Regions from separate parts of the Homo sapiens genome. Here all the other regions are linked to region 7. Evidence: promoter capture Hi-C in 16 types of primary human blood cells and fetal thymus (Javierre and others, 2016). All regions are on one chromosome and are shown on one strand. The core of a region is centred on a gene start or on the middle of the fragment in contact, and the rest is flanking DNA. Distances in the headings are between cores, read along the strand shown. Region 1 has its middle 110 kb from the start of FGF1. Region 2 has its middle 160 kb from the start of SPRY4-AS1. Region 3 has its middle 180 kb from the start of FGF1. Region 4 overlaps NDFIP1 (Nedd4 family interacting protein 1). Region 5 holds the start of LOC124901096 (a long non-coding RNA gene). Region 6 has its middle 140 kb from the start of FGF1. Region 7 holds the start of SPRY4 (sprouty RTK signaling antagonist 4).

What was found. Contacts are between HindIII fragments. The CHiCAGO score rates a contact against its expected background, and 5 or more counts as called.
Region 1: a fragment that was not itself captured here is called in contact with the fragment with the promoter of SPRY4 in region 7 in 1 of 17 cell types (activated CD4 T cells); the score reaches 5.0 in activated CD4 T cells.
Region 2: a fragment that was not itself captured here is called in contact with the fragment with the promoter of SPRY4 in region 7 in 1 of 17 cell types (endothelial precursors); the score reaches 6.5 in endothelial precursors.
Region 3: a fragment that was not itself captured here is called in contact with the fragment with the promoter of SPRY4 in region 7 in 1 of 17 cell types (M1 macrophages); the score reaches 5.3 in M1 macrophages.
Region 4: a contact is called between a fragment that was not itself captured here and the fragment with the promoter of SPRY4 in region 7, in 1 of 17 cell types (endothelial precursors). The highest score is 5.4, in endothelial precursors.
Region 5: a fragment that was not itself captured here is called in contact with the fragment with the promoter of SPRY4 in region 7 in 3 of 17 cell types (endothelial precursors, M2 macrophages and activated CD4 T cells); the score reaches 10.1 in endothelial precursors.
Region 6: a contact is called between a fragment that was not itself captured here and the fragment with the promoter of SPRY4 in region 7, in 5 of 17 cell types (endothelial precursors, M2 macrophages, activated CD4 T cells and 2 more). The highest score is 18.1, in endothelial precursors.

The regions. Positions count from the first base shown.
Region 1 is chr5:142,573,166-142,577,248 of GRCh38, reverse strand. No RefSeq gene overlaps it. Among named protein-coding and RNA genes, the nearest start is that of FGF1, 110 kb to the left of the region's middle. The HindIII fragment of the contact is 7,425 bases long and covers 1-4,083 here.
Region 2 is chr5:142,483,883-142,487,582 of GRCh38, reverse strand. No RefSeq gene overlaps it. Among named protein-coding and RNA genes, the nearest start is that of SPRY4-AS1, 160 kb to the right of the region's middle. The HindIII fragment of the contact is 1,240 bases long and covers 1,713-2,952 here.
Region 3 is chr5:142,507,543-142,511,310 of GRCh38, reverse strand. No RefSeq gene overlaps it. Among named protein-coding and RNA genes, the nearest start is that of FGF1, 180 kb to the left of the region's middle. The HindIII fragment of the contact is 5,361 bases long and covers 1-3,768 here.
Region 4 is chr5:142,143,158-142,147,072 of GRCh38, reverse strand. NDFIP1 (Nedd4 family interacting protein 1) reads right to left here. Exons shown (of 8, transcript NM_030571.4): 7 at 2,397-2,502. The coding sequence ends at 2,399. Among named protein-coding and RNA genes, the nearest start is that of NDFIP1, 36 kb to the right of the region's middle. RefSeq lists an enhancer at 1,606-1,695. The HindIII fragment of the contact is 2,078 bases long and covers 1,068-3,145 here.
Region 5 is chr5:142,160,759-142,164,524 of GRCh38, reverse strand. The region is part of intron 2 of LOC107986455 (a long non-coding RNA gene); the gene reads left to right. LOC124901096 (a long non-coding RNA gene) reads right to left here and starts at 951. Exons shown (of 2, transcript XR_007058978.1): 1 at 562-951; 2 at 1-284. The HindIII fragment of the contact is 4,540 bases long and covers 1-3,766 here.
Region 6 is chr5:142,543,356-142,547,419 of GRCh38, reverse strand. No RefSeq gene overlaps it. Among named protein-coding and RNA genes, the nearest start is that of FGF1, 140 kb to the left of the region's middle. The HindIII fragment of the contact is 1,254 bases long and covers 657-1,910 here.
Region 7 is chr5:142,322,632-142,326,960 of GRCh38, reverse strand. It overlaps SPRY4 (sprouty RTK signaling antagonist 4), which reads left to right and starts at 1,940. Exons shown (of 2, transcript NM_001127496.3): 1 at 1,940-2,117. It overlaps SPRY4-AS1 (SPRY4 antisense RNA 1), which reads right to left and starts at 1,668. Exons shown (of 4, transcript NR_120664.1): 1 at 1,591-1,668. RefSeq lists enhancers at 2,474-2,533, 2,015-2,977, 2,978-3,942. The HindIII fragment of the contact is 6,861 bases long and covers 1-4,329 here.

The sequences.
Region 1 (4,083 bases), core at 623-3,122, 250 kb before region 7:
ATGTTCCCACCGATAACAATGATAAAAACAGGTTTAGGGGGAAAAAAAAAACAACAAACAACTTTTTTTAAGAAGAACTATTTAAAGACCCTGGAGAGAATCCAAAAGCAGATAGAAGCAGGAGACTTTAATCTTAAAAACTGCCACAGGAAGGACTAGGAATTTCAAGATTATATCTTCCTCACCCGAGGGTGATGCCCAACCCTCACAGCTAGGGCTGTGAAAAACAGCCATGGAAAACCACAGCCTTACTAGCTAAAGGTTCCACAGATAGGAGTTCAAGGCTGAAGAGTAGCTAGAAGTCTACAGGAAAAGTACTGGCAGCAGAAAAACCACTGAAGAAGTATAAAACTCTGAGTATAAACTCTGTCCAGGTCTGTGGCCAAAAGCTAAACTACACATATGTGGTAAAAGACCCTAAGGAACCTGGTGAAAAAGGAGACAGAAACCAGAGAGAAATCTCCCCTTGAATACAGAGCAATGTGAATGTGTTGCCTTTTAAAAACAAACAAACAAACAAACAGACTTGGTACATTTCCTAACCATGCACAATGCAGGTGGCAGAAAATTGAATCTTGCAGCCTTGAAATGACAGAGACAGCCTAAAATCGGCCAAATAGCTACAAATCAGGGAGAGGGAGCACCTATAAGCAAGAAAGTGCACAAAGAAGGTGACTTCCATCTCTGCTGAAATCCTTGGCTAACTACCAAATTACACAGAAACAGGGAAAACCCCCAAAGGGGCAGGCAGAAAAGCAGCAATAGGAAGCCATGAGAAGAGAGATATTGGCTGCTGTGTATCACAGGGGGACAAAGTTTGTGGTTGGAGACTAAACAAGTCAGCTGCCTACTAGAACAAAAACTCAGTAGTCCTCAGAAGAATACAACAGAATCTAGAGTTGCCATAATGTATTATCCATAAGGCCCAACTTTCTTTCTTTCTTTCTTTTTTTTTTTTTTGAGATGGCCGCTCTGTCGCCAAGGCTGGAGTGCAGTGGCAGGATCTCGGCTCACTGCAAGCTCCATCTCCTGGATTCACACCATTCTCCTGCCTCAGCCTCCCGAGTAGCTGGGACTACAGGCACCCACCACCATGCCTGGCTAATTTTGTTTTTGTATTTTTAGTAGAGACAGGGTTTCACCGTGTTAGCCAGGGTGGTCTCGATCTCCTGACCTTGTGATCCGCCCATCTTGGCCTCCCAAAGTGCTGGGATCAAAGGCATGAACCACCGCACCTGGCCTTAAGGCCCAACTTTCAACCAGAAATTACTATACATGCAAAGAAACATTAAAGTGCACTCTACACTCAGAGAAAAAGGCAGCCAATAGAAACTGATTCTGAGTGGCTCCAGATGTTGCATTTAGCAGACAAAAATCTTTAAACAAGTTATTATAAATATGTTCGAAGAATCAAAGGAAAATGTGGTATACATTGAATGAACAGCTTGGAACTCTCAGTGGAGAAATTAAAACTAAAACACATATAAAATAAAAAAGGGGGAAATTCTAGAGCTGAAAAGTACAAAATCTGACATTTTAAAAGTTCACTAGATAGGCTTAACTGAATATTGGGAATGGCAGAAGGAAGAATCAAGGAACATGAAGATAATGCAACAGAATGCCACACCCAAACAACAGAAAAAAATGAAGATTGAAGAAAAATGGAGAGAACCTTAGAGACCTGGGGGAGCAATATCCAGATGTTCAGTATACATATGATTGTAATTCCAGAGGAAGAGGAGAGAGGAGGGAATAGAAAAAATATCTGAAGAAATAATTATTGAAAATTTCCCAAAGGGTCATAAGGAAAGTTTTAGGGTTGATAGAAATGTTCTGTATTTTGAGTGTGGTGGTGATTTCATGGGTATATACATTCATCAAAATGTATCCAATTGTACAATTTAAATAGATGTGCTCCTATTAACAATAGCAAAGACATGAAATCAAACTAAATGTCCATCAATGACAAACTAAAGAACATGTGGTACATATACACCATGGAATACACCATGTATTCCATGGTGTATATGTACCACATGTACTTTTTTATGCAGCCATAAGAAAGAATGAGACCAGTCTTTTGTGGGAACATGGATGGAGCTGGAGGCCATTATCCTCAGCAAACTAACACAGGAACAGAAAGCCAAATACCACATTCTCACTTGTAAGTGGGAGCTAAATGATGAGAACTTATAAAGGAAGAAACAACAGACACTGAGGTTTACTTGAGGATGGAAGGAAGGAGAGGAACAGAAACAATACTTATTGGGTACGAGGCTTAATACCTGGGTGATGAAATAATCTGTACAACAAACCCCCATGACACGAGTTTACCTATGTAACAAACCTTCACAGGTACCCTCAAACCTAAAATAAAAGTTAAAAAAAGAAAACTTGGGAAATTAAAGGAGCAATAAATGTGATGATTTTGAACTTAAAATAAATATTAATAAATATAAATAGGTATGCATTATTGTACATAAATTCAATCTCGATAAAGTTGTTTTAAAAAGTAAATGATGACATAAACGTCCCCCCTCCATTAAAAAAATCCTTATGTGGCCGGGCACGGCGGCTCACGCCTGTAATCCCAGCACTTTGGGAGGCCGAGGCAGGTGGATCACGAGATCAGGAGATCGAGACTATCCTGGCTAACACGGTGAAACCCCGTCTCTACTGAAAATACAAAAAAATTATTTCCCCTACTTGGGAGGCTGAGGCAGGAGAATGGCGTGAACCCGGGAGGCGGAGCTTGCAGTAAGCGGAGATGGAGCCACTGCACTCCAGCCTGGGCGACAGAGCAAGACTCCATCTCAAAAAAAAAAAAAAAAAATCCTAATGTATGGGTTAAATATATTGAACACATCTGAAGAGAATACAGAAAACAGAAAAATAGATTTGCAGAAATTAACCAGAATGCCATGTGGTGAGATAAATGAGCAGGGCAGAGGCATGAAAAATAGAATGAGAGGAGGAGTTCCTGTAGGACAGAAGCGTGGAAATGTGGTGAGATGGTGTGTGGAGAGATTATCACCAATGATTTTCCAGTTTTGAGGAAACACAAGAATCCTGAGGTTCAGGAAAAACATGGAGTCCCCTTCAGTACAAATAAAACCATATCCACATTTAGGAATACCTTTGTGAGCATGAAGAATGCTACAGAGAATATCTTAAAAATAGCTCGAAGACCCAGGAGTGGTGGCTTACACCTGTAATCCCAGCACCTTGGGAGGCCAAGGCAGGCAGATCACCTGAGATCGGGAGATCGAGACCACCCTGACCAACATGGTGACACCCCGTCTCTACTAAAAATACAAAATTAGTGGGGCGTGGTGGAGTATGCCTGTAATCCCAGGGAGGCTGAGGCAGGAGAATCGCTTGAACCTAGGAGGCGGAGGTTGCGATGAGCTGAGATCACGCCTTTGCACTCCAGCCTGGGCAACAAGAGTGAAACTCTGTCTCAAAAAAAAAAAAAAAAAAATAGCTGGAGGAAAGAATGATGTCCTCCACAGTGGCATTTACAGTGGCAGCAGACTTCTCAACACGACGACAGTGGCCAGGAGAGAGCAGAATCTGGTCTTCAAAAAGCTGAGAGAAAATAACCATCAACCCGCCCGTCTGGTGCCTCGTAACCAACTGCAGATCCACTTCTGAACTTCTGTTTTGAACCTTCTCATGACCTCTTCATTCTCAGCCATCAAAATAGGTTCAGTCTCTTAGGCTATTAAGGGATTTTATTTAAAGTAAACAGTGTTAATGTGTTCAGGGTGTTAATGACATACTACTGTGGCCTGCCAGTGTTGACCTAAGCCACTTTTATTATAATATTACTAAAATATGCACAAATATATAAAACTAGGTATAAACCTCATATGCTTATAGTTCTTTAAACTATAAAGTTGTTTAATAGTAAACAACTATTAAACCCAAACAAATGTGTAAATATATATGTGATTTATTTATAAATTAAAAACAAAGTTACGGTGCCAATAAAATCCAAAACATTGACATAAATGTGACAGAATGCACCATCCATTTATCTGTTGATGGACACTTGAGCTGTTTCCACAGACAAAATACCAG
Region 2 (3,700 bases), core at 1,083-3,582, 160 kb before region 7:
AGCCAAGATGCCTTTGGCTTCCTTAAACACAAAACTCTGACTGAAATTGGCTGAATTTATCAAGGGACGTATTATCTGGTATAGCTGGAAGCTCTGAGATGACAAACAACACGGAAGACTTATTCAGTGGCTCAACAACATCACCACGGACCCAGTTTCCCTACCGCTCTCCTTCTCATCACTCCACTTCTCTCTGTGGCTGGCTCTGCCTACAGGCTGCCTTTTCTCATCTTCAAGAGATGGCTGCAGCAGTTCCCAGGGTGACATCCAGGCATCCAGGCACAGTGATGACCATAGACAGAAGGGAGCCATCTCTTCTATGTATCTTTTTTTTTTTTTTTTTTTTTTTTTTTGAGACAGGGTTCACTCCCATTGCCCAGGCTGGAATGCAGTGGCATGCTCTCGGCTCACTACAACCTCCTCCTCTCGGGCTCAAGCAATACTCCTGCCTTAGCCTCCTGAGAAACTGGGACTACAAGTGCACACCACCATGCCTGGCTAATTTTTGTATTTTTAGTAGAGATGGGGTTTCACCATATTGGCCAGGCTGTTCTTGAACTCCTGACCTCAAGTGATCCACCCACCTCGGCTTCCCAAAGTGCTGGAATTATAGGCGTGAGCCACCATGCCTGGCCTATTTTATGTATCTCTTTCTTAGCAAGATAACTTTTCCAGAAGCTTCCCAGCAAACCCTCCCTCCCATCTCACTGGCCCCGATTGGGTCACACACCCCATTCCAAAATCAATCATTGTCAGGGGATAAGTTTACATGTCTGGCTTAGCATAATTTACACATGGTGAGAGTCAACTGCTATGAATCATCAGTCAAAACTCTTGAAAGGCTACTGGGCCAGGCAACAGATGCTAGCAGCCCAAGCTACAATAATGGTGGTAAGGGATGGGGAAGTAAGAATAGGTAAGATTTATTTAGCAAGTTATGTTGGTAGAGTTTAGTGAATGTGGGAGGAGGAGGGAAAGGAGGAAGGAAAGGACACCCTCATCCATATTTCCAGCTTGGGTGAGCAGGTTAGAAGGAAGTTTGCTAACTGAGATAAGGTACACGGTGGGGAGGAGAGGTGGGTTTGGGGAAGAGATGGTCTGGGGCAGGCTCAATTTGAAGTGCCCATGGGCACTGGAATAAGACATTGAACAGTCAGTGGAGTGCAAACCATGATCCCAGGGTGGTGGTCCATAGTCAGATCTAGTTCTCGGATGGGCTTTGGTTCAGAAAGATGTTAAAAAAAAAATTGAACCAACATTTACTCTTTGAGAGATTCCAAATAGGATTATGTATTTCTAGCTTCTGTGGGAAAATTGGAAAATCTGGTGACACTGGCTCTGAATTCCTATGCATCAAGAGTTGGCTGGAGCCCAGCAGCAGCCACCCACTTTGGCTAAAACCAGCAGCTCTCTGGTCTGCCACACTCACAGTCAGTTTCATTCATTTTCTTTACCTGCTTGGCCCCTGAGGACATTTCCATCTGACACCTCTGATGGGGAAGAGGTCTGAGCTGCAGATATACATCTTGGAGTCACCGGCATTTAGGTGGCAGCAGAAGCCCTGACTGTGGGTGCCATTGCCCAGAGATGAAGTAGAATGAGAAGCAGTCAGGGAAGTATCCCTGGGGCCATCAAGTTTTTAGAAATAGAAGAGAAATTCATATAGAAGAGAAAGAAATGGTCAAATAAATTGGGGCAGAAGCAAGAAAGCTTGAAGTCTCAAAAGCTAAGAGAGGAGAGTTTGAAGCTGGAGGCAGTGCCCACCTGGGCCAGGTGCAGCAGGGAGGTCCAAAGACAGGAGGAGCCAAAGGAGACACAGCACTGGGGAGATGAGCTGTGGGTGCCACAGGGAGCGTTGCTCCCTCGCATGGTGAGGGAAGAAGCCAGAGAGCGATGAGTTGGGTAGAGGATGAGAGTTAAGTGGACAGAGTTCACATAGACTACTTGGGTGAGAAAGAGAAAAGAAAGTTGGGGTGGAGGCTAGAGAGGATATGGGGCCATGGGATGGTCCCTTTTAAGGATCAGTGAGACTTGGACATCTTAATGGGAGAAATAAGCCACTGGTGAAAGAAAGGCCATAGACATGTACCACACAGGGATGAACAACAGAACCAAGTCCAAGAGGAGGTGGTGGAGGTGAGGAGCAAAAGAGTCAGGCACCACTGGCTGGATCCACCAATAACAGGAGGGGTGTCCAGGCCTCCAAGGCTGGTGCATAGCAGGGGACACTAAACCTGAGTGTGTTCAGAAATCTGATGGCTATCGATGGACCTTTCATGATGGAGGTGGTGGTGGGGTGGAGAAATCAGTAATCTTTCAAAGGAATACTCCAAGGTGCCCATCTTTTTCCATTTGGTGTGAAGGCTGGGGTGGAGAGGTTTATCACTCACAGGTCCTGACTTATAAGCAGCAATGGGTAAAGAGCAGAGCAAGCCCTGGAGGCTGGTTTTCAAACCCTTGGAGGCTAAGTTCCTATCAGCAGAGGGGAAGGAATGTGCAGGCACAGTGGAATGATCATTCTTCCTGGGAGGCAGGAAGCTCTGGGAGGGGAGGCAGTCACAGCATCACACACAGCCTTGAGAGCTGTAGACAATGGAGCCCTCTCTGGTACACATCCTGGTTTGGGTGAGTGTTCCGCCCCTTTTCCTGTGCTTAACTCACTCCAGAAGCATCCACCATAACCAAGATGGACTAAACTTAACTCCACTCTTGCAGATGCCCCATCAACTCACAGATGCAAGTGGTGTCATCAAAGCCCCAGCATGTCACCCAACCGTTAACACCAATCCACATAAAGAAAATGAGCATGCATTCCTGTTTGCTGGATGCTGCACACATTCTTTAAACAGAGTAGGCACTTGGGTGCCACCTTTATTCAAGGTCTTCAGGTTTCTTTTACGGGGGACATCTGCCATAGCAACTTTCAGTGGGCATTTCTTTTCTGATGAAGCTTTCTATCCTGGGGAGCCAGGGAGACTCCAAGGCAATGGAGTCCCCTGGCAGCTCACTGTCACAGGTCAAGGTTTTGATTATGACAAAGAAGATAAAAGAAGAGAAGCCCCTCATGGTTTGTGGCTGCAGCATTACAGGGCTGCCAGAGACCCCAGAGCATGGGTGTCTTGGTGGTCCACATTCTGTGATCCAGGGGAGGAACCCTGAGGAGTAGGGAACTGCCCACCAGAAGAGCACTCACAACACACTCAAGCTTCTTGACATACAATTCCAGATGTCATCTCTAAATTCACAGTGACCTTTTCCCTAAACTATGTTTTGATACAGGGCGAGCAGAAGCGAGGGGTGATACACAGCAACATCGGTGAGCATCTGAGCTCGCAAGGAGGCAGTGGCCTCTGTGCCCCCTCTTCCCACCCGTATCTTAATAAAATTTCCTAAGGATAATTATTTAGATTGTCTCTCTTTTGTGTCTTATGTATTTAATGGCAGAGCTGCTATGAGGCAAAAAGAAACAAACAAACAGAAAGCTCTTTTTAAAAAATGCAGGAGGAGAAATATGCCAGGAAAGGCTACTATTTGACATTAGGCATTCCTGGGATAACTAGGATTTAGCTAACATAAAAATTTCCATGTTTTAAAAAGTATCTCTGATTTAAAAATAATAACAAATCTGGCTACAGCCCTTGCAGTGGAAAAATCAATACTCTTTTATTCCTGTAAAAGCTAGGGCATTAAAACAGAATCC
Region 3 (3,768 bases), core at 992-3,491, 180 kb before region 7:
TCTTCATTGACCCCTTCCACATAGGAAACTCATTCTTCAGCATCTTGTTTGGGTAGCTTGGTATTACAAGGCTGGCATTTATGATGATGGTGGGGCTGGTGAGAATTGTATTCACAAAAACACTGGAATGTAAGCACAGGCAAGGGGAAAGCCTTTTTGGTGTTCTTTGTCCTTTATTATTATTAATTACTTATTATTTATTATTACTGCATTCCTGGCACTTAGAACAGAATACCTGACACACAGTAGGCCTTTGGTCCAAAATTGTTAAATTAATAACTAACATCCCCTGAGCACTTACCATGTGCCAGACACTGTAGTAATTTACAACTTCTGTCTCAGCTTTTATTATAGGATTATTGTAAGATCTGAAAAAGCACTAATCTAGGTGCAGTGGCTCACACCTATAGTCCCAGCTACTCAGGAGACTGAGGCAGGAGGATCCCTTGAGCCCAGAAGTTTGAGTCCAGCCTAGACAACATTGCAAAACCCTATCTCTTAAAAAAAAAAAAATTAAAAAATTGAAGATAAAATTTAAAAAGCACTTAATTTGCTCTTACTGCATGCAAGGCACTGTCCTAACTAAGCATTTGATATATATTAGCTCAACTGATCAACACGGCAACCCTGTAGTGGGTTGAATGGTGGTCCCTAAAAAGACATGACCACATCCTAACCCCTAGAACTCGTAGATGGGACTTTATTTGGAAAAAGGATATCTGTGGGTATAATTAAGTTAAGATCTCAAGATGAAATTAACTTGGATTATTGGGGCATGTCCTAAACCCAGTGACAAATGTCTTTATAGGAGATGGAAGAGGAGAAGACACAGAGAAGAAGAAAAGGCCAAGTGAAGAACTAGGCAGAGGCTGGAGTGATGCTGCCACAGCCAATGACCACCTGGTGCCACCAGAAGCTAGAAGAGGCAAGAGGGGATTCTCCCCTAGAGCCTTCAGAGCGGGCATGGCTCTGTTAACACCTTGATTTTGGACTTCTGCCCTTCGCCACTGAGAGAATACATTCCTATTGTTTTAAGCTACCAAGTCAGTGGTAATCTGTTACGGTAGGCTTCGGACATCAATGCCAATCGTTTATGTCTTCCCAGATGAAGAAATTGAGCCCAGCAGATGAAGTGACTTGCCCGCGTTCACATACTTAGTAAGTGGCAAGCTGGAATTTGAACTCAGGCAATCTGGCATGAAGTCCTTGTTCTTAACCACTACATTCATCCCTGGAATGTATTTAATTGAACACCTCCTATGTGTCAGGTATGATAGATGCTGGGGATACAGCTATGAACAAAACAGCCAAAAGTTCCTCATGAAGCTCAGGTGGGAACTGAGGTTCAGAGAGGCAGAGTGATTTGCCTAAGGTCACAGCACAGTTGGTAGAGGTGGGATTTGAACTGGAGTATCCTGACTCCAGGGTCCATTCTCTGCTCTCTAAAACAAAATGGGAGCCACTGGCCCAGGCAGCCTCTGTAAACTATAAGAAAAAAAAATGGGGATGAGTAGTGGAATGCAGCAGCTGTCCCCCTACCTCTGAACAAGGTCCCTTGTCAGTGGTGTTCACTCAGGCTGCCTTATGATGGTAGAAGGAACAGTAGGTGACCGGGGAGTCAACTGGTCTACCACAAGGCAGAGGCAGAGACCTTCTTCTACCTCTGTTGTCAGGATGGCTCAACATCTGGGGGCATTTTGAGGAGCTGGTGAACTTCAATGTCAACCCTCCAGACTGCAAACAGGCTAAGGCATCTGACCCAACTCTTCCAGCACCAGGGGCAGGTCTTCTCCTAAATTTGCCACGGAATAATCTGAATTCCACCTGGAGAACAAAATGACTTATTAAGTGAAAGCAGACGTCATTCTCCAGGTCCAAGGGTAAAAGCTCTGAGGGTGCATCTGCACTTTCAATGAAGCAGAAATGTTGTGTCCTGAGACTTCCAACACCTAAAGATAAACACATTTGAGGGGATGGAGGTGCCAGAAGGAGCCGGAAATGTGCTTTTCAATTTTTTTTTCTTCCTTGGAGAGAAAAACATGAAAAAAGGAAAAGGTAATTTAACCTGAATAAATGTGATGCAATTTCCTGTTTTGAATTAAGTTTTAACTAGAACAATTGCAAAAGCAAAGAAGGCAAAGGGAACAGAATGAGGGGGATAAAAGAAAAAAAAGGGAAAGATGAAAAAAGTAGAAAGAAAGAGACAAAATAGCAAAGAAATTTTCTTTTCCATAAAAGAAAAATATATATATAAGATGAAGTGGCAAGGGACAGTGATGGAAGATAACAGGAAAATGAAAGGGAGAGACTAAAATCGAGATACCGAAGCAGAGGAAAAGCAGAAAAGAAGGATGGTAATTTTCTGTGTCAGTTTTCCAAATGACTCTCTCCACCTGGGGCTCTGGCCACCCCCTCCCTTTAGCTGCTGCTCAGGGACTCTTTATCAGTCTATTGAAGAGGCAGGAGGCTATCAGTTTACAAGAAGAGAGGAAGCAGAGGAAGAGGAAAGAAAGCAGACAAATTACTAAATGAGGAAGCCAATTATCCAGTGCACCATACTTCAAGCTGTCAGTAGGCTGCTATTCCTCAGGCACCTTTGAGCAAAGTGGGACTTAGAACTCTAGAGCTTGCTGCCATCTGGCCTTTCCAATAAGATAATCTATACAGACTTCCCCTAGCACATTCACATCAAATTGCCAGCATCCGGAACACAAGCTCTCCAACCCAGAGACCTGTATTCCAGTACCACCAGCACACACACAATCACAAAAGCAGAAGAGGTCTCCAAATAAAACTGCCCAGGGTCCACTTTGGTTTCCTACCTGGACAACTAAAGCGTTTATCTGGAGGTTTCTGCTGAGTTCTCTAACAGCAACAAACATAAAAAAGCCAAAAGCAATAGGCATTTGCTTCGGTCAAGCAGCCAAAGATGGTACAGGGTAAAAGATCTTTTGCGACTGCCAAAGGCCAGTGCATGGAAGGCAGCCCGGCGCACGGTGTCTTAACTTACGGAGATTTCTTTAATCTTACATAAAACCCTGACAAACACTCCTGCAGAACAAAGTAAACATCATCTAATCTAGCTGTACGACAGCGGCCACATACAACTTGATGTGGGGGGTTGAGAGCCAAGAAATGTCAGACAGGAAGGAGATCGAAACGTCTGGAAAGGAATCCAGTCAGTCAGTGGCAGAGTCCACTTTGGAAGAAATATGAATTACAGAAAAGAGCTGAGCATGGGGCAGATAGCACAATAACATCGGCACCTTGAATAAGCTGCCTAACACGCTCTGGCAGTGGAGACTTCTGAAAAGTTAATATTTATGATATACTAGATTTTCTTGTTCCCTCAAGAAAGTCATGTGGCGTGGTTGGCTTGAATCTGAAAGAAAGCTAAGAACCTCGAGAAAAGGAAAATGTCAGGTCTGTAGTCGTCAGCTCTGTAGTCATCAGGTCCCTGAGGAATAATAGATACTGACATTTCAGCAACTACAACTCTGAGTCCGGCTGAAAGCAGAAATGGTGAATCGGTTTGTCCCCTCACCAGCAGTCTGCATAATTCTGTAAACAACTCTCCTTCTCTATAGAGAGAGGCGACTATAACTCTGGAAAACATTGACAGAGACTAATACACCCACCTTCATGCTCCACAGGGTAAAACTGATTAGTCATAGTCACAGTTCCTATGACAACATTTTTCAGTGTGAGGCCTGCGGGCTACCTGTATCGGAAAAACCGGGGGAACTTGTTGACAATATCCATCGCTGA
Region 4 (3,915 bases), core at 857-3,356, 180 kb after region 7:
TGGTGTGCATTCATTTACCTCTGAGAAAGTTTCTGACAACTCTTAACGTACACTCCTGAAGCACCAGCAGGCTCAACACTTGAATCTCCCTTAGTACTTCCTACAACATTATTATTACTAAGGACTGCCTACTTCAAATCACAACCCCACATACATAGTTTTAAATTTAGAATATCAAAAAACATTTCAGAAATTTTAGAAAATCCAAACAATAACAACAAAATTTTCAGTAAAGCACCAAACAACACAGGAAAACTGAGACGTTCAGGCTTTCTGTCAACTGGGCTGCTATTTCTTATGCTTAGAACCAAGATGAAGAAGGTATGCAATCCCCTAATAAAGATTCAGATTTCTTTCTAACTGAAGAACAAAGAGAATAGACAGAGGTGTGATCTCAGTCCATTTAGAAATTCAGAGCTAACATTAGACTACACCTACAGAATTGATGACTTTTTTTAAAAAGAGAAAGAAATCTGTCCCCTCAGTATATCTTGGGTGTCAATGTATTAGAGGGAAAATATTAGGTGATTTCAGCACCCTTCATAAGGAGGACTTGTAGCAACCCAACAGTACTAGCTTTGGAATCCTTGATAGGTAAAAGTTAAACCTAAGGCTAACTATAAATTCCAATCTGATATATAGATGAAAGATGACAATGGTAACTAAATAAAACTGCAAAGAATATCTAATAAGTCTCTTATGTTCTAGACATAAACAAAGACACATTGTAGGCATTAAGGCCCAGGCCAGTGGTATGAATATCCATCTGTGTCCAGACTGTGTGACTGAATTCAAATTCATGACATGCTACACATTTTCAGACATGCAATCAAAGATTCCTGTTTTTTAATAATGAATACTAGTTTTTTTAATAATGAAACTAACTTTAAAAGCAGTTTAAGCCTTCTTTACCTACATACATTTAATTATCCATGTAAAATGCTTAATATATTATCTGACACATGGAAAACTCCATGAGTGTTAATTTTAGTTTACTATACTATGCTTGAAAAAATGTTTGTTATATTCAAGAGGGTCTCATTATATGATTCTGTTGCCTAAAAGCTTTCAATGCTGTTCTATCACCTGGAAAATCAACTATGGTAGATGCTTTATTTTCTTGAAGCATACCTCCTGAGACCACCACAAGTCTTCAAAATTGAGAACCTCACGATTAGTATATGATTGCCTATATAAACTGACACTCTGCGAGTACAGAACAAATTCGTGCTCCACGTGGGCTTAGTCTTGCATTGACCCAACATGTCGCTGGCTCTATCAATTTCATGGTTCTACTGCAAATGGGCTTGGTGCTCAAGGTATCTGAGAAACTTGTTTCAACCTGACTTTTTAGCCTTGACCCTCAATACTCCTTTATGCCCCAATCAAGCTGCTATCCTCTGAACAAGCCCCATACTTCCCTATTTTTGCTCTTCACTCTGCCTCAGATGATTCTGAAATTCTTCCCCACACTCTCCACTATCATGTAAAGTTTATCTGAACTACACCACCTATCCTTTATAATGCTTTGCCTAAGACCTTCAACTGGACTGGCCTCTAGGTGGTGCTCAAGGTTCCACTCTATGATTAACACAGTCCCCAAAGCCCCAAGGAACAAACAGCCAAGTCCAAGAAAGCCTATTAGAACTTGCTACCACAGAGAGCTCTCTCTGGTGTACTCTTTCTCAAGATTCTCTACCTCTTCCTTCAGGCAGCCATTGATGTAAGATGGAGTGTCAGCCTCTGGGGAAAATCATGTGTGAATCAAAGAGCCTTGGCAGGGCTTAGTCCTCCTGTTCTAGGCAAGGGAAAAGGTCCTTTCTCCTCTTTTCTTGAGTTTGACCTTCCTCACATTAGAGTGGTATCAGAATGTCAACCTGAAGAAAGCCATGGGGAAAGCCTCAATGACAATTTTAAAAGATGGAAGACTTGGTGGGCTTGTCAGCAGCCCAGACAAAAGGAGTTCTTAAAGTACTACACAGTCTCTCCAGGTTCTGGGATTTAGGGGCAGAGATGAGTGATTAGGCCTGAAGGGTTCCTTCTGAATGTCATCCTCTGGAACTGGTGCAACAGTAAGCAGTGGCTTCAGGATGCTGGAATTCAGTCAAGCAGCCAAATATCCCAGCTTTCTGATGACTGCTAAGACCCCTGCCTCTTTCACACTGTCAAAGCATGAAGTAATGATTTCTCCTATGGCAGTTTTTCTAATTTGACTTTATCAATAGCTTTTTGTAAAAATCCCTGTTACTAGACAAGAAACTGCTAAAAGGCAGGGACTGTGCCTTCTTTACTTTCTCTATATGCCCCTATCACAGATACTTACTCTAAAACTGAACAGAAATCTACAATGTAGCACATGGTTACACTGGGACTAGAATAAATTTTTTCTTTAATACCTTTAATAAATAAAGAGAACTCTGGTCCTGGGGAGATTTGAGAAAGTTTCTGGCATCTTCCGAACTTTTGCATAATTGATAAATCCTCTGAGAAACAGGAGAAAGCCTAATTTAAAAAAGAAAAGTCATGAATGAATTTATAATTTCCATGTTAAGTCCCCTCCCCAGAAATCCCTCTCCTGATAGCGATACATTGTTATTTTTCTGCTAAAGGTAATCAAAACATTAGCAATTTCCTCCAGAATCTGCAGAGGATTTTCATACCAAATTATCCATCCTTCAATGAGAAGGTATAATGTAAGAGTCAATAGTGTCTTTTGCACATTCAGAATTGAATTGGTCTAAAAAGGAAATAAAAAATAAGATGGAGCCAAACATTTACATATGAAAGCCTCATTGAGAAACATCAAAATCTACCTATTGAGTTCCAAAAAAGCATTCCAAGATAATGAACTCCAAACAACAACAACAACAACAACAACAAAAAGAGGTTATAACTGTGTTTTTCTCAAGTAAAAAGAAAAAATGTAACCTTCCTTGTCATGGGCTGTTTTTTCTGTCGACAGTATATAATGTTGTCCACTAGATGTCAGGATCCCCTTATCTATTACAGCAATTCTCATCGTCTCAACTTGAAACTTTGTCTACTATTATTATTATTATTATTATTATTATTATTATTAACAGACAGGGTCTTGCTCTGTTGCCCAGGCTGGAGTGCAGCGGTATGATCACAGCCTCTGCAAGCTTGAATTCCTGGGCCCAGATGATCCTCCTGCCTCTGCTTCCCAAGTAGCTAAGATAACAGGTTCATGCCCAGCTAATTTTTTAATTTTCTGTAGAGATAGGGGTCTCGCTATGTTGCTCAGGCTGGCCTTCAACTCCTAGGCTCAAGTGATTCTCCTGTCTCAGCCTCCCAAAGAGTTGGGATTATAGGTGTCAACCACTGTACCCAGCCTATTTCTCTATTCTTAGTAAGACTCTTTTTGTGTGACTACACCAGAATCTATACATTCACAAAAGTTTGTACCTCCTAAAACTGTCAGCAGAGAGGTGATATGCCCCTCCAGTGGAAACTCAGATACTCCTCCTGGCCTTCCTCTTTCAGAGATGGTCTCTGAGCCTTTAGCACATTTTTTTTTTTAAATACTTTTACTGGGATACTCAGTGGTAGAAAATGGTACTTGGACAGTTGAACTGATTTTTAGCAGTAACCAAGAGCTGTCAGCTCTGAGCTTGGGGAACATCATTCTGTTTGGGACCCAAAGCAACAAGTGACTATTGAGCAGGGGTTACCCCTTCAAATACTAAGTTGGGGTATGGTGGTGGGATCTTACTGAACTGGAAGGCACATGACCTGTATGGAGGAGACAGCAACAACTCAGCTCCAGCCAAAGGGTGCCATGTGAAATGTAGGCTAGCTTTTCTTGATATTCCAACTTTCAAGAAAAGTAAAAACATTCAGGCGTTTTATGTGAAATAATTTTGATTTTTAAAATGTTGGCAACTAATTTAAAAA
Region 5 (3,766 bases), core at 252-2,751, 160 kb after region 7:
TTGATCTGACTCTTAGCTAGAAAGGTTCATACTATCAGCTGTGCCTATCTCACTGGCTTAGAGAAAGGATAAAAAAAAACCCTGCAGTACAAGCTGGGGGTGGCGGTGGGGGCACTGAAGCCACGCTCCAGGTGAGGTGGGGAGGCACACTGATGGAGGGGTATGAGCCCACTTCATGGGGAACATGCACAAAGAAGAAAACATCTCAGGCTGCTGTGGGAGGGCAGATGTCCTGTGCCTGCAGTCCAGAATCCCCCTCATTCCCACCTTCAATAAAGGGAATCCTGTGGGAAGAGAAAGGAATGTGTTAAAGTGTAGATCAAGAAGGGACAGGAGAATAAAAAGAAATGGAAGCAGGTGCACACACAGGAAAGATGATGAGTGTTCTATTGTTGTTAAAGAGTTCATGCTCTAACAACACAAACCAAATTAATCCCAGCCTCCCCACTTAAGGACGGTAAGGGGCAAGTCAGTTAACATGAGTCTCCATTTTTTTAAAAATATACAACAAGGATCACAGTATTCCCTACCTCAAAGGGTTGGGGAGATGATTAAATCTACCTGTGAAGAAGAAAGCAGAGTACTTCGCACATGATAAATGCTCAATAAATGGTATTCATTACTATCCATCTATGATACGCATCTGCAACACAAAAATACACATGTTTACTGTAGGTTTAATCCCAGGGTCAAGGAATTTGATGTGAACTTCCAATCAACAGAGAAACCAGGTCTCTTCTGGATGCCCTATGGATGAAAGAAGACCAAGGGTATAGGACGCCTTTGTCATAATTGTTGCAACAGTCTAATTATTCCTCTTGGCAATGAAGCAATGGAAAAAAGAGGTATTAGAAGTTGGCTTTAAAAACACCATCATCGGCTGGGCGCGGTGGCTCAAGCCTGTAATCCTAGCACTTTGGGACGCCGAGGCGGGCGGATCACGAGGTCAGGAGATTGAGACCACGGTGAAACCCCGTCTCTACTAAAAATACAAAAAATTAGCCGAGTGTGGTAGCGGGCGCCTGTAGTCCCAGCTACTCAGGAGGCTGAGGCAGGAGAATGGCGTGAACTCGGGAGGCGGAGCTTGCAGTGAGCCGAGATTGCGCCACTGCACTCCAGCCTGGACGACAGAGCGAAACTCCTTCTCAAAAAAAAAAAAAAAAAAAATCATCGAGGCCAGTTGTGGTGGCTCACACCTGTAATCCCAGCACTTGGGGAGGCCGAGGAGGGCGGATCGCTTGAGGTCAGGAGTTCGAGACCAACCTGGCCAAAATGGTGAAGCTCCGTCTCTACTAAACATATAAAAATTAGCCGAGTGTGGTGACGGGCGCCTATAATCCCAGCTACACGGGAGACTGAGGCAGAAGAATCACTTGAACCAGGGAAGTGGAGGTTGCAGTGAGCCGAGAAGGCACCATTGCATTCCAGCCTGGGCAACAAGAGTGAAACTCAGTCTCAAAAAACAAAAACAAAAACATCATGGGGCATTTGTCAGAACGAGCTGAAAAGCAGAAAAAGACAAGATAATCTACACTGCAGCAAAGACTATTTAAAAAATTTAACATCTGATATAAACAGAATGGCTTAAGAGACCTCATCTCACTGGGCTGTGCCAGTATGCTAGTACTACCTATGTAAAAATAATAAATTCACAAAAACAAGTCTGAAAAAGAACAAACAGTTGATTTTTGGAGATAGTAGGCTTAGAAAGTGACTTTTTAGATGTGCTCATAAGTTTTGCAAAATCAGGGCATTTTGAAACCCCTGTAAGATTGACGGAGGAAAAAAAATGTATAACGGTCTAACAGTTTTAGGCAAAGTAAGAGATGAGTGTTTACTTAGGGCAGTGGTTTTCAAGCCATTTTTTTTTCAGCTGCAGAACCCTTTTTGTAAAACAAAATCTGAGATCCCAAATACTCTGAGTAAATTTATTTATATATTGTTTTAGTATTTGTTCATGTCTGTAAATGAGATCACAAATAACCACACAATTGAACACATATTTGAAAATACATCTTATTACATGATTAAGGCTGTTTTTAAAAGATAAAATTCCAATTAAAAGTTTATAGAATCCTAGTGTTTTGTGGAAGGTAATTCAGAAGCATCAGAAGGATTATGAAATTTGGGACTAGCCAGGTGCTTCTCCATGGAGGCCCGAGAGTTGTCATAGATTCATGCAGATGCCATTGGAGGTGATCTATATAGTGAGAGAGAACAAAGAGCAGAGGACACCCCAATGCTTTCTGTTTAATGGCCAAGCCAAACTAGTACTGAAGGGGCATGAAGAGGTGAGCCTGTGAACACTGTGACAAATGCCACCACTGTGAAAAGCTCCCCAGATCCCCCAATAAAGGGGAAAACAGGCAGGCCCTATCTGGGCAGGCTTGGATTGGCAGGACTGGGTTGGGGGGCACAGACACAGGCTGGAACCATCTATCCAGGGGCATACAGGAACGTTCCTTGGAGAGCTTCAGGAAGAGAAAGCAGGCATGTGGTTTTCTTGTTGGATGCGGCTAGATGGAATGGGAAGATAGAAAGCAACTAGGGTTAGGCCGGGCGCGGTAGCTCACGCCTGTAATCCTAGCACTTTGGGAGGCCAAGGCGGGCAGATCACCTGAGGTCAGGAGTTCGAGACCAGCCTCACCAACATGGTGAAACCCCCATCTCTACTAAAAATACAAAAGTTAGCCGGGCACGGTGGCAGGCGCCTGTAATCCCAGCTACTCGGGAGGCTGAGGCAGGAGAACCACGTGAACCCAGGAGTCGGAGGTTGCAGTGAGTCAAGATCACGCCATTGCACTCCAGCCTGGGGACAAGAGTGAGACTTCGTCTCAAAACAAACAAACCAAAAAACCAAAACAAAACAAAAAAAAGAAGTAACTAGGGTTCAAATGGCCCAGGGTTAAGATTTGGAGAAAGGAAAGGGAGAGCGGCCACTGAGAAAATGGCCCTATCTACAGTTGTGTAGGAATTTAGGACAGAGAAGTAACAAGAGTGATCTAAGCAGCACTGGAAACGTAGGGGAAGGGGGAGGTGTCGAGAGGGCGGCAAAGAAGACATGGAAAGGGCAGGGAAAAGAGCAGAGAATGTAAGGCCAGTGCAGAAAGAAACAAAGCAAAGGATAAGAAGTTCAAAGGCTGCTTCGAATACCTAAATCCATACAAAGATAGTATACGGCAAGTCTTGTAATGTAATACAAATGGACTAAGCAAAAAAGAGGCCAGAGTTTCAGCCTATAGAACTCAGGAAAGGAAATGAGAATCAAAGTTTATTGAATCTGTAGAGTGTTTTGATGTTAGTGAGTGTTGGAAAATTATTTGCCGGGGGAGGGAGGCTTTGGTTGCTTGGTGGTAAAGAACGCAAAATAATCCCTTTTATAGTAATCTGTGAAGATCAAATGAACATGTATATAAGTTCCCACATAAACATATGATAATATTACCAGAAAAGCAATAGTAAATCATATTCTCATCTGGGCTGCAGGAATTTAGGAGGATAAGAATGATCTGATTTATCAGGGATGGCCTAATGACATTTAGGAAAGAAGGAATGAGGAAAGGCAGGGTTTATGAGAGCTATACGGTCCTGAAAAGGAAATGAATTCCCTCGGTTTGAATTATAGGTTTGGGCTTTTCATGTCCTGCCCTTAGACCCAATACTATAGCTGATCAGCTGTGAAGAGCTGTTTGCTAGATGCTGGGCACTTTACCTCCCTAAAAATGGCCCTGTGAGAAAATATTCCAGCACACAGATTAGAAAACCA
Region 6 (4,064 bases), core at 34-2,533, 220 kb before region 7:
GCTTTTAACATCATGACTTTTAGATAAGGGGTCATGGGATATGGGGCACGTTTTACTATACATTTCTGTATTGTTTGAATAATTTACACGTGTTACGTCCTTGGTAAAGCCAGCCTCAGGAAATGGTAGGTACTTCTCTCATCTGTCTTTAGAAACCATGTTGGCTTTGGCCGGGCGTGGTGGCTCACGCCTGTAATCCCAGCACCTTGGGAGGCCGAGATGGGTGGATCACAATGTCAGGAGATCGAGACCATCCTGGCTAACACGGTGAAACCCCATCTCTCCTAAAAATACAAAAAAATTATCTCGGTGTGGTGGCGGGCGCCTGTGGTCCCAGCTACTCGGGAGGCTGAGGTAGGAGAATCGCGTGAACCCGGGAGGCGGAGCTTGTAGTGAGCTGAGATCACGCCACTGCCCTCCAGCCTGGGCGACAGAGCGAGACTCCATCTCAAAAAAAAAAACAACAAACCATGTTGGCTTTATTCACCTATATCTAGAGTCCAAGTGATAGAAATACCAAAGCAGAGGACAGTGGTGTCTGCCAGCACAAGTCCCTGTGGCTGAGGGGACATGTGAACTCAAGTCCCATTAGACATGAAACCATTATTTTCACTTTTTGGTATTCAGGTATTAAGTGATGCTCACTGCATTAAGCTTTTAGAATGATCTTGATGATATATTACCATCTCTTGGAGTAAAGATTCCATGACTCGGCAGGAATGGGCACATTGTTCTCAGCAGCTGAGAATGATACTGTGGAGCCTGTCGCTAAGCACTCTAATTGGAGGAATATTTAGCTAGTTGAATTGAGATTAGGTTCAGCTGTGAGGAACAGAAACCCTCCAATAAATAAAAGTTTATTCTCTATCATATAAGAAGCCTTGACGACAGTCAGTGCATGGCGGGCTGTTCCTTCTCTCTTGTTTCATCATCCATGGACTCAACCAAGATGGCAGTATTTGCATTTCAGACAGCAGGACAAAGGCAGGCATGAAGAAGAAGGGGAAAGTGTGTATACACAATGCCTCTTAAGTGGGTTTCTAAGAGCTGCCCCTAGACACTTTAACCTACTCACACTGGCCAGAACTCAGTCTTATGGCCTACCTAGCTGCAAGGGAATTTGGGAAATATAGTCTTAATCCCAAGTGGCCATATGCCCAGCTTAAAATTGGGGCTTTAATGTTATCACCACAGAAGAAGAGAAGGGTAGATACTGGGAGATGACTAGTGGTTTTCTGCAACACTGATATAACCCACTTTTTTCCCCTCTAATCTACTTTCCAAAGATAAATGTGTTTAGCATTCCATCATGTCAGCCAACGGCATAGCTAAGTTATCATGCTTTGTCATACACTCACCCCTATGAACTTAGGGAAATATTTGGAGAAAAGATTTGCTACAACCTAGAGAGGATGATGAGACATCCTGGGATTTCAGTCACCTGTGTTTCTCCCATTTCTGCCACCCGCTCCAGAATCTTGAACATAATGGATAGGATATGCTAGCTAGCTTTTGGAGACAGGAACCATGTCATTCCTACAATGGTTCCATAATAAACGTCAATGGAATACAGTAGAACTGGCCTGTGATGTAATTTAGAGACTACTTCCTGTGAATGAGGCAATATGTACAGGAATAGAATGTTATTTATGCTATGGGAAAGGCCCATGGGGCTTCAGACTTAGGTTTAAGGAAAAAGGAATCCACCAGCTGATTATACTAGATCCCAGGGGACTAAGGATAGTAAACAGTCATAAAGGAATTGGGGCTTCAGAAATTCCCAAGGTTAGGAAGGACTAAATCCTGTTTTGGAGCAGACAGTGGCAGACTCCCTGGACGTTCTTGCCTGACATCAATCAGTCTAGGGACTGGTGGTCCATTAGGCCTCTGCAAAGAAGGGACCTGAAGCTTCCCTGCCCCAGCCTTACCTGTCATTTACTGCCAGGCTTTCCCAGACACAGGATGGTTATTCACTAGGAATACAAATGAGGGTCCTTTTATGTTTCCTAGCCTGCAGGCCCATTAGTTAGCAGTAAAAAGCCAAAATGTTTAAATCCTAAAGTGAAACCTCCATGCTGTGGTATTCTGTCTTGTTAAAAACAAGTAACTTTATGGTTCTTTGATCAATAAATAGCATAAGGGTATAGAGATAAAGGAAAAGAACATTAGCATGAAGACAACAGACTAAATAAGGCCCCTGAATTACTCAGAGGGGTGGAATTTCAACCCTGGTAGATTTCCCTGGTAACTATGTAGGAGAATTGTTCCAGACTTGAGGACTGTGATCATGCAGGTTTGGCATCCGTGTCAGCTGACACTGGCCCCATGTTTGGCCCCATCCTCTTGGGCCCTTGGCTTGTCAGGGCTCAGTGGTCACCATGCCAGTGAAGGTCTCAAGCTAGGACTTCACCCTCCTACGTGAGACTGCCTACTTGGCCTCTCCCTACAGGCTCAACAAAGCTTCTAAAACCTATACCCAAAGTCAACCCTTGAGTTCTCCTCAAGCCTGCTTTTCCATCTCGCTAAATGGCCAGGAAATCATTCTGCAAAGTGCTCAGCTTGACAGCCTCAAAACTATCCCTGGCTCCCACTCTCATGTCCCACTTTCAAATCATCAGCAAATCTCACTGGCCCTGCCTTCAAAGCATATTCAAAATCTGACCATCTCTCATCACTTCCACTAGTCTGGGTTGCCATCCCTCTCACCTGGATTACTACAAAGCCTCCTACTTGGTCTCGTTCCTCCCCTCTTGCCAAGCCACCCATCCCATTCTTTTTGCCACACAGCAGCCAGAGGAAGCCTTTTAGAACCTAAGCCACGTCATGGTGCCCATTGGTTCTAGACCCTCGAGGGGCCTCCCCATGTCATACAGAGTAGAAGCCACAGTCTGCCCAGGCCCCCAAGCCCTCTGTGACTTGCCGCAGCTCTCCCATGGCACCTCCTACACCCGCTCCTGTGGCTAACTCTGCTCCAGCCTCCCTGCTACTCCACAAAGGAGGTAAGCATGTGTCCGGCTTTAAGCTGTGCACATGATGCTACCCAGGCAGCATTTCCGCCAGCTATCAGCAAGCTTAGCTTCCTAAGCTCTCATTTCTGATAAGGATGGCCCCTTATCAGAAAGCTTCCCTGACCACCCCTTTAAAATCCAGCTTTACTTTTCTTCATAGCACTTATCCCCACTTGACAAAATATATATTTATGTTTTACTGTCTGTCTCTCTCCACTGGAATGTAAGTTCCATGGATACAGGATTTTTCCTTCTGAGAACAGTGCTGGGTACAGAGAAGACACATATTTTTTACATGAATAATGTGGGCACATTGTCCAATTAACGTGTACCATAAGACAAGACAAACAGTAACAACTGTAACAAAAATCCCAGTCACCTGTATGAATATGTATAATGTCTTTTTTCATTACTAACCTTTTAAAAAAATAAGGAAAGAGGAGGAGGAAATTTTTGTCGGTTGGATGAAGAGGGGAGAAAATCATTTACTTAGAACCATGTTTCGGGCACTCTTCTAGGTCTGGAGGTAGAGAGTCAAGATAGATAAGCTCCCTGTTTTGTGCAGCTTATGTTAGAGAGGAAATAAAGAGGTGGAGGTGGACACTGAAGAAGCTGGGAATCACACCATCAGTAAACAAACAAATGAACAAACAAGATAATTTCAAATAGTCGTGAATAATATACATGTTCAAGAAAACTTACTGGAAATTACCAGTAAAAATATACCTGTTTTATGCATGGGACTTATCAGTCTCTTTTTCCCATTCCACCCCCAAAATCCTGCACTTTCAATAAAATATATAAATATTCATACTTGATATTTATTAAAACAAGCTGCTTATCTTAGAGTAACTACTTTGTAACTTCTATTAAATGATGAGCTGTGCTTTGTTGAAGACAATATCTCTTGTACATGGATGGATTTAGCAACTGATATTGTCCTTTGTCATATGCCCAGAAGGTACCCATTAGAAGTTAGCAGATTTTTCACAGGTCTTCAAAAGTGAATGTCTGGAATTCTTTCCAACCTAACCTTGAATCTTTGTGGATATTTCA
Region 7 (4,329 bases), core at 691-3,190:
TGTGATGCTGAGAAGGGTTGGTAGCAAAGTAAAGCCAGGTTGCAAAGACCTAGAAAATAAGTGCTACAATTTACCAGCTCTTCCATATACCCGGTGCAGGACCCTTGGCCTCAGTTTCTACAGCTGACAGAGAGGGCGATACTGAACTTCAACAGCCTTAAAAGGAAGTCCTGGACAACTGTACCCATTTTTCTGGCGAAGAGTTCTCTTGGTCTTAGAGAAAGGTCTCGCCCCTGAAAGGAAGGCTGAGGTTCCCTAGGGGAGAGTCTGCTCTGCCCTCAGGAGCTGGGTAAGTACACGGAGGGGTGAGCCGAATGGTGAGAAGGCATTTTAGGCTAGGACTCGGTGACCTTGGGCTGCCTGCCTCTAGAGTCCCAGCCCCAGCCCTAGGCCAGACCTCAGCCCTGGGCTGGGAGCCTTTCATTGGTTCCTCTGACAACAGCCAAGCACAATCCTATAGTGGCGTAGGAAGAAAAAGACTGCCACACAATCTCCCCGTGCGGCCAGAACAGCGGCAAGACAGACCTTACAAGGGACTCAGGGCCAAGCCCTGGCCCAGACTCTGCTCTTATCCACGCATCAAAGCCACCCCCCGCCCCGGACTTCCCGGAGGCTACAGGCTCCTCCGTTCCAGGGAGGAGCAGGGCCTGCTGCGAGGGCTCCCCGCCTTCCTGGAGTCAGGCCTAATGGCGGGGGCTTTTCTTTTCACCGGCTTGAGCTGATCCTCACCCCCGCCCCCCAACGCCACCATCATTAACAGCGAAGAAAGGATCCCCAGCCATTTCCATTTCCTCTGCGGCTCAAGAGCCCCGTTGTTATTTAATCCTGAGGCCACCCCGGCAGCATCCTCGGCGCAGCCGGCTCCACCCATCCACCTGGCCAGTTCTCGGCCGCTCCCACTTCCCCGGAGGGGAGGCCGGTGAGAGGTGGGGGATATTGGGGAAAGGCGCCTACAACAGCGAAGGGCCGTGGGCCTTCGGTGGACCGAGGCTCCTCAGGCCAGCGTCCTGTGAGGGCTGGGAAACCGACTGGGACAGAGAAAGGACACCTAGCTAGGGCGACAGAGAGCGGGCAGACGCCCGGGCACTGCGGACATTGCACTGGGGCGGGGGGCGGGGGGAACGCTGGGAGGCGAGGGCCAGGCTTCCTCTGGCTGAGTTGCCAGAATCGCCCCGGGGGGTACTGGAGCCGGAAGAGGCCTGGGCCCAGTCACTGTCTACACCCAAGAAATGGGGGGAGGGGCGGCCAGCACTCACGAGAGATTCAGCCTCAGGAAAAAGAACCAGATTCACTCACCAATCCTCACCCCACCCTTTGATATGAATGATGGACATTTTCCTAATTTTTGGTAAACGCAGCTTCAAGACCCCTCCCGCCTGGCGTCTCTGGTCTAGAGCAAGAGAAGGCCCCCAGTAGGGGTCCTCCCGCCCCCCCTTTTGACTGCCTGCGGGGGGCAGAGATCCCCAGATCTAGGTGTGCCCTCCACCACCCTGCTCTCAACCCGGGATCCGGAGGCCGCAGCGTCCCCCACCCCCCAGCGACACTGACGGTTCCTGCCCAGGCCCGCAGTGGCGTGAAGGTGGCCTTTACCTCCTCTCGCAGGCTGGGAGGGGGTGCAGCCCGCGCAGCTGGCCCAGCTGCAGCAGTCGCCGCCGCCCTCCATTCATTAAAAAAAAAAAAAAAAAGGCAACAACAGCCTCCACTGGAACCTCCACCCCTCTTTGTAAAAGAACGACGGCTCCTGGTGGAGCTTGAGCCAGTCCCAGCAATCACGGGTTAAGATCTTTTCCCGCCCCCCATTCATAAAAAAAGGAGCGGAGCGCATGCGCGCTCAGGGTCTGTTGTGCCCACCCATTCATAGAATCGCGAACGGCACGCGTGCGCACTGGCGCTCCCTTCCCTCCCATTCATAAAAAAGCCATTTTCCCAGGCAGTGGTTGCAACATCGCCGCGGAGGTAGCGAGCTGAGCTGACAGCGCGGAGCTGGCGCTGTGGAGCGCAGGGAGCCTTGCCGGTTCCTCCGACCGGCGTCTGCGAGTACAGCGGCGGCTAACCTGCCCCGGCTTCAGGATTTACACAGACGTGGGGCGATGCTTGTGACCCTGCAGCTCCTCAAAGTAAGTCCATGGCTGGTTTGGAGATCTGAAACTGCCCCTCTCTGAGCCGCGACGCGACTCCCCCCTTGGGCTGGGGCAAATGGTGCGCTATTTCTAGGCGCGCCTCAGTGTTCCTTCCCTCAGCCTGCGCCTCCTTGAGTCGCTGCGGTGCGCCGCAGCTCCCTGACGCCCTCGGCCCGGCCGGCACGGCGCCGGGGGTGTTCACAGCCTGGCACCGCCGTTTCCGACCCCTGGGCATTGCCAAGCCCGGCTTCCCCGCCCTCTGAGACTCGGGAAGCCCCGTGCGTGTCCCGGGAGTTTGCCTCTGGCCTGGCCTCTTTCCTTCTCCTGCCACCATCCGCCTCGAACGCTGGAACGGGCGTCTCTGGGCTTGGTCAGGAGCCACCGTTTGGGTCGGGGGGCGCCCTCGCTCTGGGCGGCTCGCCCACCTCCCAGCTCGGTGCCCACGGTGCCAGCTTTGCCGTGTATCTCCCAGCCCGCCGTAGCGGCCTATGCTCGACGTAGATTTTTTCTTTCTCTTCGGAGCCGTGACGGACTGAATTCCCTCCCCTTCTGCCTCTCCCTCGATGGTCAGCGAGGGGCTGGCTCAGGACTGGGCATTCCTACTCCCTCTCCTTGGCGAGGCGGTTCCTCGCCGTCTGACCTTTGCTCCGCTGCCGCATTTTATGCTATGCAACTGCCTTGCAGTTGACTTTTTCTTGCCTGGCCTCTGTAAGGCCTGAGGCTCCTCGGCCACCCTGTACCTCCCTATCCTCGGGCACCGAGCTGTGCCAGGCCCCGGAGCCCCCAGGCCGCGCTAGGGCTGCGGTGGGGGTTGAAGGTGCGTTTACATAACACCAGGCGTGTGGGAGCTGGAGGAAGAGGTTGCGAATGTAGGAGAGATAAGGCTCCTGCTTTCCCTCCTTCCTTCTTGGTGGTACCAGGCTTGACATCACAGAGAAGAGGATAGAGACGGTATGTTCTGACAAATTCTGAATCGCCAAGACCCCGGGGACAGTGAGCTGGGTGAGGGCGGGTTTGGCTAGCCAGGGCAGCTAGAGCTTGGCTCCATCACTGGGTCCAGGGCTGTGCCCAGTTCCCCCTCCATGCAGACGATCAAAAAGCATTTAGACAGTAGCTGCTCTTGTGCAAGAAGACGGTTTCTCAATTCTCCTTGATTGGGGGCAGGGGGTTGTGGGCAGGAGAGGCAGGGGAGACAGAAAATGGTTGCGTGGCTTATAGGGCTGAAGGATGGGCAAGAGAGGCGAAATGGGCTGGAGGGGCTAGATGGTAGGCAGAGTAGGGAGCTGCTGGCTGCCTCTTTCACCAGCTGCTGGAGGGGCATCCATATTGCCAAGGCCTCTGTGAGGGCAGGAGGCCGCCTTCTGGCGCAGCAAGGCTTCCGTACCCCCCAGCGCGGTTAGTGCTGGAAAGAAGAGTGTACAGTGGGGTGCCCAAACCTAGTGGCATCCCCTTCTTTCCTGCCTCCAAATCAGTGGCGTGATTCTCTCCAGTTTTGGGAGAGGCCAGACACACTGGAGGCCAAAGAACTTGCAGAGGGGCGGGAGCAAGCACTCGTCTGTGTCTGTAGCTGACCGAGGCACTAACCTCCCTGACAAGTCTCTCGGGATTCAAAGCTGGAAGGTATAAGGCTCAGAGAAGTTGGGAACTGCGGGTTTATCAATCTCTTAATGAGCTCAGTCTGGCCTGAGGCCCTACCCAATATTGCACTGGTGGATTTCACAATGTTTGGAGTTCTCCAGATCTTCACACAAATGGAGCATAAACATCTCTGAAATTTTCAGCCTTTTTTTTTTTTTTTTTAGGGCGGGTGTCAGGAGAGCTAGGAGAGGCAGGGCTGCAGTTAAAGATTTCTCTTTCTCTCTCCCTCTCTGTCTCCCAGAAGGGTGGGAAAGAACTAGTGGAGATGTCCAGTGTGAAATCACATTTCCTCTTTCCCATCTCTTGGGAGGGTTCTCACGTGCTGCGAGGCTCCAGCAAATCCTAATGTGGTGAACAGCACACACACTTACCAACCACGCCATGTGGCCAGTACGGGTGTAGGGTGGGGATTTTAGTAGCAGATTTCTGAAATCTTCATGGACAAATATTGGTCAGTTACAGTGAGCAGACTTTAAAGGCATCTGTTGGTTATCAGGAGTCACTCCCTTTCAGTGGAGTGTAAATGCCCTCTTGCCCTTAGCCCTCCTGCCCAGCTCCATGACCTTTTCCA